Regions from separate parts of the Homo sapiens genome. Here regions 2 and 3 are each linked to region 1. Evidence: promoter capture Hi-C in 16 types of primary human blood cells and fetal thymus (Javierre and others, 2016). All regions are on one chromosome and are shown on one strand. Each heading gives the region's core, a stretch centred on a gene start or on the middle of the fragment in contact. The rest is flanking DNA. Distances are from core to core; before and after follow the strand shown. Region 1 holds the start of ACTR1A (actin related protein 1A). Region 2 overlaps LDB1 (LIM domain binding 1). Region 3 has its middle 26 kb from the start of NOLC1.

The links. The method cuts DNA at HindIII sites, captures the fragments that hold promoters and counts their contacts. A CHiCAGO score of 5 or more calls a contact.
Region 2: a contact is called between a fragment that was not itself captured here and the fragment with the promoter of ACTR1A in region 1, in 6 of 17 cell types (activated CD4 T cells, fetal thymus, naive CD4 T cells and 3 more). The highest score is 7.7, in activated CD4 T cells.
Region 3: a fragment that was not itself captured here is called in contact with the fragment with the promoter of ACTR1A in region 1 in 2 of 17 cell types (activated CD4 T cells and endothelial precursors); the score reaches 7.1 in activated CD4 T cells.

What each region holds. Positions count from the first base shown.
Region 1 is chr10:102,501,107-102,503,961 of GRCh38, reverse strand. ACTR1A (actin related protein 1A) reads left to right here and starts at 1,250. Exons shown (of 11, transcript NM_005736.4): 1 at 1,250-1,362. The coding sequence starts at 1,315. It also overlaps a transcript of SUFU not described here. RefSeq lists silencers at 1-174, 852-921 and enhancers at 1,272-1,371, 2,766-2,855. The HindIII fragment of the contact is 1,293 bases long and covers 1,169-2,461 here.
Region 2 is chr10:102,113,152-102,116,006 of GRCh38, reverse strand. All of the region lies in intron 1 of LDB1 (LIM domain binding 1), which reads left to right. Among named protein-coding and RNA genes, the nearest start is that of LDB1, 5.8 kb to the left of the region's middle. RefSeq lists silencers at 874-1,083, 1,194-1,343, 1,364-1,513, 1,564-1,653. The HindIII fragment of the contact is 8,794 bases long and covers 1-2,855 here.
Region 3 is chr10:102,177,418-102,180,272 of GRCh38, reverse strand. No RefSeq gene overlaps it. Among named protein-coding and RNA genes, the nearest start is that of NOLC1, 26 kb to the right of the region's middle. The HindIII fragment of the contact is 1,743 bases long and covers 559-2,301 here.

The DNA of each region.
Region 1 (2,855 bases), core at 1-2,500:
GCCTCGGGGCGGCGGGGCGCTAAGGGGGGCGGGGCGCCGGCGCACCCTATCCAAGCACCCATTGGCTAATGTCTGTGCCAGTCACAGGCAGGGAAGGTGTGACTTGACAATAGGCCCCGCCTCCCCTCCCTGTGTTGGGAGTGTCCCAAGGCTCTTGGTCTCCCCCTAGTGTTAGGAGGAACCCAAGTTTAGAGATGCTGAGCACCCTCTGAGGTGCTAAGGTCCCACGAAAGCAGCGAGAAGTGCGCCAACAAAGGATTTGTTACTGTTTTGCTGACGCGCTGCTAACTAGGATTTAAACATAAATCTGACAATGGATTGATTCATTCATCCATGGGGCGTTAGTATTAATAGATGATAATAAATCTAATGTTTTCTAGGGCTATTGACAAAAAGGTCCCTGAAATTTCAAGGGGGCTGGGGGAGAACATAATCCAGAGAAAAAAATGCACTGGGCTCATTTGAAAGCAGTGACACATAACCTCTCTTCACCTCCATTTTCTCAACCATCAGTGTCAATTCTAGCTCGTTATGAAAATTAAAGAGATACTCGAGCAGTTTCTGAAACCCTTAGATGATGTTTTAATGACCAAAAGATTACCTATACCAGTAGTTCCAATTGCCAATCTTCGGATCAATGTTAGCCTGTTATGCAGAAAAAAAGAAAATGCAAAAGGCAACGACAATGTACAGGTTTTTAAACTTAAAGCTAATTTTATGCAATTTAAATTGTTTTCCTTTGTTGTAGGAATATGTCCTCTCGCGTACGTGTGTTAACATTTCCTTTTTGTTAGAGTGTGAGGTGCTAGGAGATGTTTATTAAAGTCTTACAGACCCAAATAAAAACATGAGAACCTTATATTGTCTAAGGGAACGTCGGGGGGAGTGGCAGGGCTGATCTGCAAAATCCAAACATCCATGAATTACGACCAATCCAAACCGAACTACAGACAAGTACTCGAGAAGACTACATACCTCAGCATGCACTGCGAACTCCTTCAAAGGGACTACAGATCCAGGCATGCAACATGACCATCAACCTGTGTCTCTGGCTGTTTAATCTAGGGAGACCACAAATCCCAGGGTACTGCGCATTGGAAATGCGACTCCCAATCTTAAACTAGGCGGGCAACAAAGCAAGCTAGATCGCTAACCCAGGCGCAAAGCTTGCTGGGGATTGTAGTTCTTCAGAGGCGAGGTCGGGCCGCTCCCTCGCCGCCCTGAACCGGCGGCTAGACTGCGCATGCGTGTCAGTGGCGCTAGCGGCGGACCCGGCTGGGCAGTTCCTTCCCCAGAAGGAGAGATTCCTCTGCCATGGAGTCCTACGATGTGATCGCCAACCAGCCTGTCGTGATCGACAACGTGAGTTGCGTCTTTCCTATCTATAAGGGGACTTGGGCTCTCCTCCTCGAAAGGATCGCTTCCCGGGGTTCAGCCTGAGCCGCCGGCTCTTTGTCACTGGCCCGGCCTGTCAGGCGCGTTCAGCCACCGCCGCCTCCTTCCTCCCCTTATCACATAGTCCGCAGGCAAGGCGGCCAGCCAGCAAAAGTGGGATGGAGAACTCTGGAGTGGATAAAGGAAAGAGTTATAGTCCAAGCCAGTCCTTGGGCCCTTGGCTCTAGGGGCCTTAACCGCTGTGTGAGATTCCCGTCGCCCGCCCTCTCCCCCATTTCCGATCGCTCTATTGGTTGCTCTGGCTGTCCATCTTAGCCAATGATACCGCCTCTTAGCCTTGCCGGATGAGGCTAGGCCTCTGCGGTGATTGGCTCACGCCCCTGCCATTCTTCCTTGCCGCCATATTGTTTTCCCTCTTGAAGGGGCGGGGCAGTGCTCCAGGGCTGTGGGGATTGGCTTCCGGGACTCTGGGTGGTGGGGCCTAGAGGCGAGTGCCCGCCCGCGGGTGGAGAACGGCTAAGTTTTCCTTCGGTCTCAGCCGGCGCTGCGGCTTGGTGGTGTGGATCTGGGTGGGGCCCGAGAATCTGGTGCCAGAAACCGCTGTAGGATGTCAGCTATTACTGTGATTATAAATTACAAAGTTGGTAAAGGTCGAGAAGAAAGGAGAGTGACAAAGGAAGCAGAGAGGTTGTCCTCCTCTTTGGAACGCCTAGTTCTTACGGGGAAAAAATTACCAAACTTAATATTTGCCTGGCGCTCTAGCGCTTCCAGGGCGTTTTCACATACATTCGAGTTGGATCCTCACAAAAACTGGACGCATAGTTTAAAAGGAACTTTGATCTTCGTGTTACCGATGAGAAAACTGAAGCGCGAAGACGTAACGTGAGCCCAAGGTCACATAGCAGAGGTGCCCTAAATCCAGTACTTTATCCGTCATCCCTTTTGCCAGCACCACCATGCAGAAGCATCAATATTGACCAATAGAAAGAATCTAAATACTGCTCTTATTTTGGGGGGAAAGGAGAAAATTGTAAAACGACTGCATTTCTGCCTTCGATTCAAAGCTTTGGTCCCACAGAGATTGATCCCTGTCTGTGTCCCTTGTAGGTCCCTCCATTGAGGCAAAACTACCAGTTCCCTCTGTTGTAAGCTGACTCTGTCAGATTCCCTTTGTTGATTCAGCTCTTGGGACCTTAGGCATATTACAATGTTCTCGTTTAAGCTTCAGCTCTGTTAGGTAGATAGGAATTACTATCCCCAGTGTATGCAGGGATGTTAAATAACAGATTTCAAACCATCCAGTTTAGGAATTGAGGAGCCAGTCATCAGACTAAGATCCAGTTCCAAGTTGCTTGCTTTTTCCAATATATTTTTGTTGTTGTTTTCATTAAATTTTCCTTCTCTCCATGGGTATTTTGTTTTTATTATTCCCCCTTAGAAAGGGGCAGGATTGAGCTCAA
Region 2 (2,855 bases), core at 119-2,618, 390 kb after region 1:
AGAGAAACAGACACTCAAATTGCAAAGAAGGAAATAGAAGGTTCGTGCTCCCCCTTCCCGTGTGTGTGTGTGTGTTTGTGTGTGTGTGTGTGTACTATGTATTTTCCTTTTCCTATTTGTCCACGAGTAAGGTCTGGCCCACTACCCAAGTTTTAGAAATATTCCCTCCTGCTACAACAAAATTACCTTAGGAAAAAAAATAGAAATATCTGCTCCCTTGGGATGCCCTGCTGGATGGGAGAACAGGTCCTATCCACTAACCACACGTTTTTTTTTCTGGGGTGGTGGGGAGGATTCAGCAGCAAACTAAGCTCCTTCTGGGGACCCTTGGATGGCCAAGTTGGCTTTCCCTAGCTCTGACAATGCCTCTTTCCCTGGCACCCACTTGTCTTCAGTGGTGGTGGGGAAGGGGGCTTCCTGTTAAGGGGGATCTAAGTCAAGGCTTGGAATTTAGCTGGGTTGGGGGCAGGGAAGCCTGGAGTGTCCCCCTTCCTCCAATCAGTGTTTACAGTCTGATGTCAGAATGTGTGTCTGTCAAAAATAACCCCCTGGAGCCTCTCCCCCCAGCTGCTCCAGGATTTCACCAGGGGAGCCCAGGCTGGCAGTCCGGGCCAGCCTTCAACCTGAGCGATCACAGGGGCGAGAAAGATTTGGGGGAGGTTTGGGAGGTGCTTTGAAGATCTTGGAGTCTGCAGAGAGGAGCCCGCCCTCCTCCATCTCTGCCAGTGGCTTTGGCCCACCTGCTCACTCCTGAGCACCGTGCCTGGGGCTCGGGGGAGGCGGGCTGCATTTCGTTCCTGGCCCCCACAGGCCTCTCCTCCATCCAGGTCTCTCCTGGCCCAATCTGATCCGTCCCCTGTCTCTCCCAGTCTCTGTCTCTCTTTTGTTTTTCTCAGCAGTCCCTCCGTCCCAGCCTCCCTCCCTCCCTTGCTCTTCCTCTTTCCTCTCAGGGAGGGGGCGGGGCCGGTGGGGGCAGCTCCACCCTCCGCCCGCCCTGGGGCCTCATTCTGAGAGAGGCTCGGAGAGAGCGAGCGGGGAGGGAGGGAGGCAGGGAGAGAAAGGGAGAAAGGCAGGCAGCCGGCGGGCGCTGCGTGTGTGTTTGAGTGTGCGAGTGTGAGTGAGTGTGAGTGCCGGGTCCTGCCTCTCCTGGTGCCCCCAGCAGAGGGGCCCGGTGGCCTGGGGAGGGCGGGCGGGCTGCTCGGAGGCAGAGGCAGCAAGAGGCGGCGGCGGGGAGAGCCGAGAAGGAGGAGGAGGAGAGAGGAAAGAGCGGAGCAGCCATTGTTGAGGGAAACCTTGCAAACAAAGAAGGCTCCGGACTCCCCGCGGCCCCCCGCCCCCCAGGCCGGCCCCCTGGCCCCCGGCCCCCGGCCCAGTGGCCATTGTAACTTTCCCCCGGGACAGCGGCCGCCGCGGGGCGGGCCGAGGCAGTGCGTGCGAGTCTTTGTGCGGCCGGCGGACTGGAGCTCCCAGTCGGGCCTGCCCGTCCCACTCGGGACATGAGCTGCTGAAGTTGTCCCCCCGTCAGCCCTCACCCCTGCCAGGACTCCTCTGGGCTTGCAGTCGCTCCCCCGTACCTCTCCTGGCCCCCTCAGTTCTCCCAGGTAAGTCTGGGCACCCTGCGAGCCTGTTGGGGGTGGGCGGAAGGCCCTCAGCCCGGCCCGGGCCTGATCTGCGGGCTGGGGGAGAGGTGCCCCAGCCCAGAGCCGCCGGGGCGCTCAGGCCTGCTGACCTGTGGCCAGTCCCTAAAGGGAGGAGGCCTGCCCTCGAGTCAGCCTGGTTACCATGGCAATACCCAGCTGGAGGTGCCCCCCTCAGCCCCGGGATGCAGCTTCCACCCTGAGAAAACTTTACTAGTTCTGGGCTCTTCTCTCCCCCTTCCTAAAGGCTTCCAATTTGCTAGAGGTGGGAGGGGGGCTATGGCTGACTCCAGGGCTGGATGACACATCTCCTCCGTCCCCCCACCTTGCTGCCTCTACTCCTGCTGCTGGGGACAGGCAGCAACAGGGACAGATGGTCTGGGTGATGTCCCTCCCCTTCTCTACTCACTCCCAAGCCCTTGTGCTGGAGCCACTGGGAGTTGTGGCTCTGGAGAGATGCTGAGTTTGTGTCCATTCACTGGAGGTGTAAATAGAGGCCCAGAGCTTTGGGCTCTAGCTCCTCAGAGCTATTTACCCAGGCCTAGACAATGCCTGTTCATTCTCTAGAGAGAGAAATGGAGGCTCTGAGAGTTTTTTTTTTTTTTTTTTTACAAAATTGGAGAGAAACCCAGGCGTCCTGCCTCCTGTCTCTTCAGGTTCTTGAGCTAACACATTTCAAGTGGCCCGGAAACTGAGGAGGCAGGGGTGGTTAAGCTATGGGAGAAAGGATGGCCTAGTTGGGGGATGAGGGCCAGGTCTGAGAATCTACTCTTGGGTTTATTGCCCAGGCCTGGCCTCTGGTGGGCTGTGTGAGTTTGGGCTTCCTGTGTGGCCTTAGTCTGCCTGTCTGTGGATTGGGGAGACTTGGTGGCTGGGTGGGGACTGTCTTTCTGGAGACACAGGCTCAGTCCAGACTGGCATGTGAAGGCTGTGTGTGCTGTTCTTGGAGCATATGGATGTGGCCCGTGAGAGCTCGTGCATGGGGTGAGGGCCTGTTGCGGGCATCTGAATCTGCCTGGGGCTGCTGGGTTCCAGCCCTTGATAGGCATGTTAGGGCGAGCTGAGGGTGAAAGCCTGCTAGGCAGGATGAGGCACACGTGTGTGCAGGCACACACAGGCTCTGACTTGGCATCTTCAGAGACTGTGCAGTCTGGGACCCTCCTTTTGCCTGCATTGTGAGGACAGGGCTCTGGGGAGAGAATTAAATGACACATGTTG
Region 3 (2,855 bases), core at 181-2,680, 320 kb after region 1:
TCTCTTGGCAATGGTAATATAGTGGTAAGGACATGGATTCTGAGTCCAATTGCCTGGATTCAAGTCTCAGCTCTACGTTTCCCTGTGTGAATATGGGCAAGTAACATAACCCGTCTGCCTTATTTTCCTCACCTGTAAAATGTGGATAATACCTTCGAGGGCTGTTGTAAGGAGTAAATAAGACATATATATATATGTATGTGCATATATATATATATATATTTTTTAGATGCAGTCACGCTGTGTCGCCAGGCTGGAGTAGTGGTGCTCACAGCAACCTCTGCCTCCCAGGTTCAAGCGATTCTCCTGCCTCAGCCTCCCAGGTAGCTGGGACTACAGGTGCATGCCACCATGCCCAGCTAATTTTTTTTAGTATTTTTGGTAGAGATGAGGTTTCACCATGTTGGCCAAGATGTTCTCTATCTCCTGGCCTCGTGATCCGCCCGCCTTGGCCTCCCAAAGTGCTGGGATTACAGGCATGAGCCACCGCGCCTGGCCAAATGAGTTGTATTTTCAAGGTTTACAGGGCCTGGCTTATTGTAAGCATATAATAAAGCTTGGCTATTGTTACTATTTACATGCAAGCTGAGCTGAGCATCTCTAATCCAAAACCTGAAATCCAAAATACTCCAAAATTTGATACTTTTTAAGTGCCAACATGATGCCACAAGTGAAAAATTCCACACCTGACCTCATATGACAGGTCTCAGTCAAATGAAGTCAACATTTTGTTTCATGCACAAAATTATTTTATTTTTTGAGACAGGGTCTTGCTCTGTCACCCAGGCTGGAGTGCAGTGGCGTGATCTCAGCTCACCAAAGCCTTGACCTCCTGGGCTCAAGTGATCCGCCCACCTCAGCTTCTTTTTTTTTTTTTTAATTTTTGGAGATGGGGTCTCACTCTGTTGCCCAAGCTGGAGTGCAGTGTCACGATCTGGGCTCACTGCAAACTGCACTTCCTAGGCTGAAGAGATTCTCCTGCCTCAGCCTCCCGAAAAACTGGGATTACAGGCACCAGCTACCACTACTGACTAATTTTTGTATTTTTAGTAGAGACGGGGTTTCAACATGTTGGCCAGGCTGGTCTCCAAATGCTGGGCTCCACCTCAGCCTCCCAAAGTGCTGGAATTACAGGTGTGAGCCACTCCGCCCAGCCACAAAATTGTTTTAAAATATAATATAAAATTGGCCAGGTGTAGTGGCTCACACCTGTAATCCCAGAACTCTGGGAAGCCTAGGCGGGTGGATCACCTGAGGTCAGGAGTTCGAGATCAACCTGGCCAACATGGCGAAACCCTGTCTCTATTAAAAAATACAAAAATTTGCCAGGTGTGGTGGCACACTCCTGTAGTCCCAGCTACTCAGGAGGCTGAGGCAGGAGAATCGCTTGAACCCAGGAGGTGGAGGTTGCAGTGAGCCAAAATCGTGCCACTGCACTCCAGCCTTGCAATAGAGTGAGATTCCATCTCAAAAAAATAAATATACACACATATTTTTATGTTTATATACATAAATACATAATAAAATTATCTTCAGGCTATGTGTATAAAATGTATATGAAACGCAAATGAATTTCTTGTTTAGACTTTCGTCCCATCCCCAAGATATCTCATTATGTACATGCAAATATTCCAAAGTCCAAAAACAAAAACAAAAAAACACACAAAATCTGAAGCCCTTCTGGATAAGGGATACTCAACCTGTATAATGAAGCTGAGATAAAAATTAATGGAGTCTGGTAAAAGAAATTAGAGGAGAGTAAAAAAAAAAAATTTAATGGAGTATCATAACCCAGTATCACACAACTACTAGTGCTACAATTCAGACACGGGGCCCTTTGGTCCTTTCCACTGCTCTCTGCTGCCTTTCTCAAATGAAAAAGAGAAAATGAAAAGAAACTTTCTCCAACTTCCCAGGCCCCTTTGCTTTTTGTCCTGGAGTTGCTCTGGCCCGGGCAGGCTCACCATCATCACTCCTGGGGCTGCCTTTCTAGTCCCGCTCTCTGGAGACCTCTCCAGAAGCCTGGAGCTCAAGTGGGCTTGCAGATGCAAGGTCTGGGGTCCCTCTGTGGAGAACCTGGAAACACCTTCTCAGGGTCCACGGCCCCCACAGCCACTCTTTTCCCTTTTGTCTTGCAGGTTTTGTATTCCTCAGAGCCCTCTTTTTTCCATCTCTCTACTTTTCTCCTTCTACGTTTCTCCTCTCACCTCACCTGTCCCAAGGAAACACAGCATTCTTCTTTAAAACAACAACAACACTTTGTATGTGTGTGTGAAATACAGCAAACATAAACATGAAGCTTAATGGATAATTCTAAAGCACTACTCAATTCAAGAAAAAAATTTTTTAAAGTCCTGGTGTGGTGGCTCATGCCTATAATCCCAGCACTTTGGGAGGCAGAGGTGGGCAGATCTCTTGGACCCAGGAGTTTGAGACCAGGCTGGGCAACATGGTGAAATCCCATCTCTACTGACTGGATGGTGATACTCACTGGATGTTTAATGATACCAACTAATTACTATACTGATAATTCTTTTTTTTTTTTTGAGGCAGAGTCTCATTCTGTCGCCAGGCAGGAGTGCAGTGGTGCAATCTCAGCTCACTGCAACCTCCGCCTCCTGGGTTCAAGTGATTCTCCTGCCGAGTAGCTGGGACTACAGGCGCCTGCCACTGCGCCCGGCCTGATAATTCTTTTAAGTGTGAAAAGTAAAGCCTTTTTCCTTAAAGGCTTAACTTTAATTTTTTTGAGATGGAGTCTCACTCTTGTTGCCCAGCTTGGCATGCAGTGGTGAGATCTCGGCTCACTGCAACCTCCACCTCCCAAGTTCAGGCGGTTCTCCTGCCTCAGCCCCCCC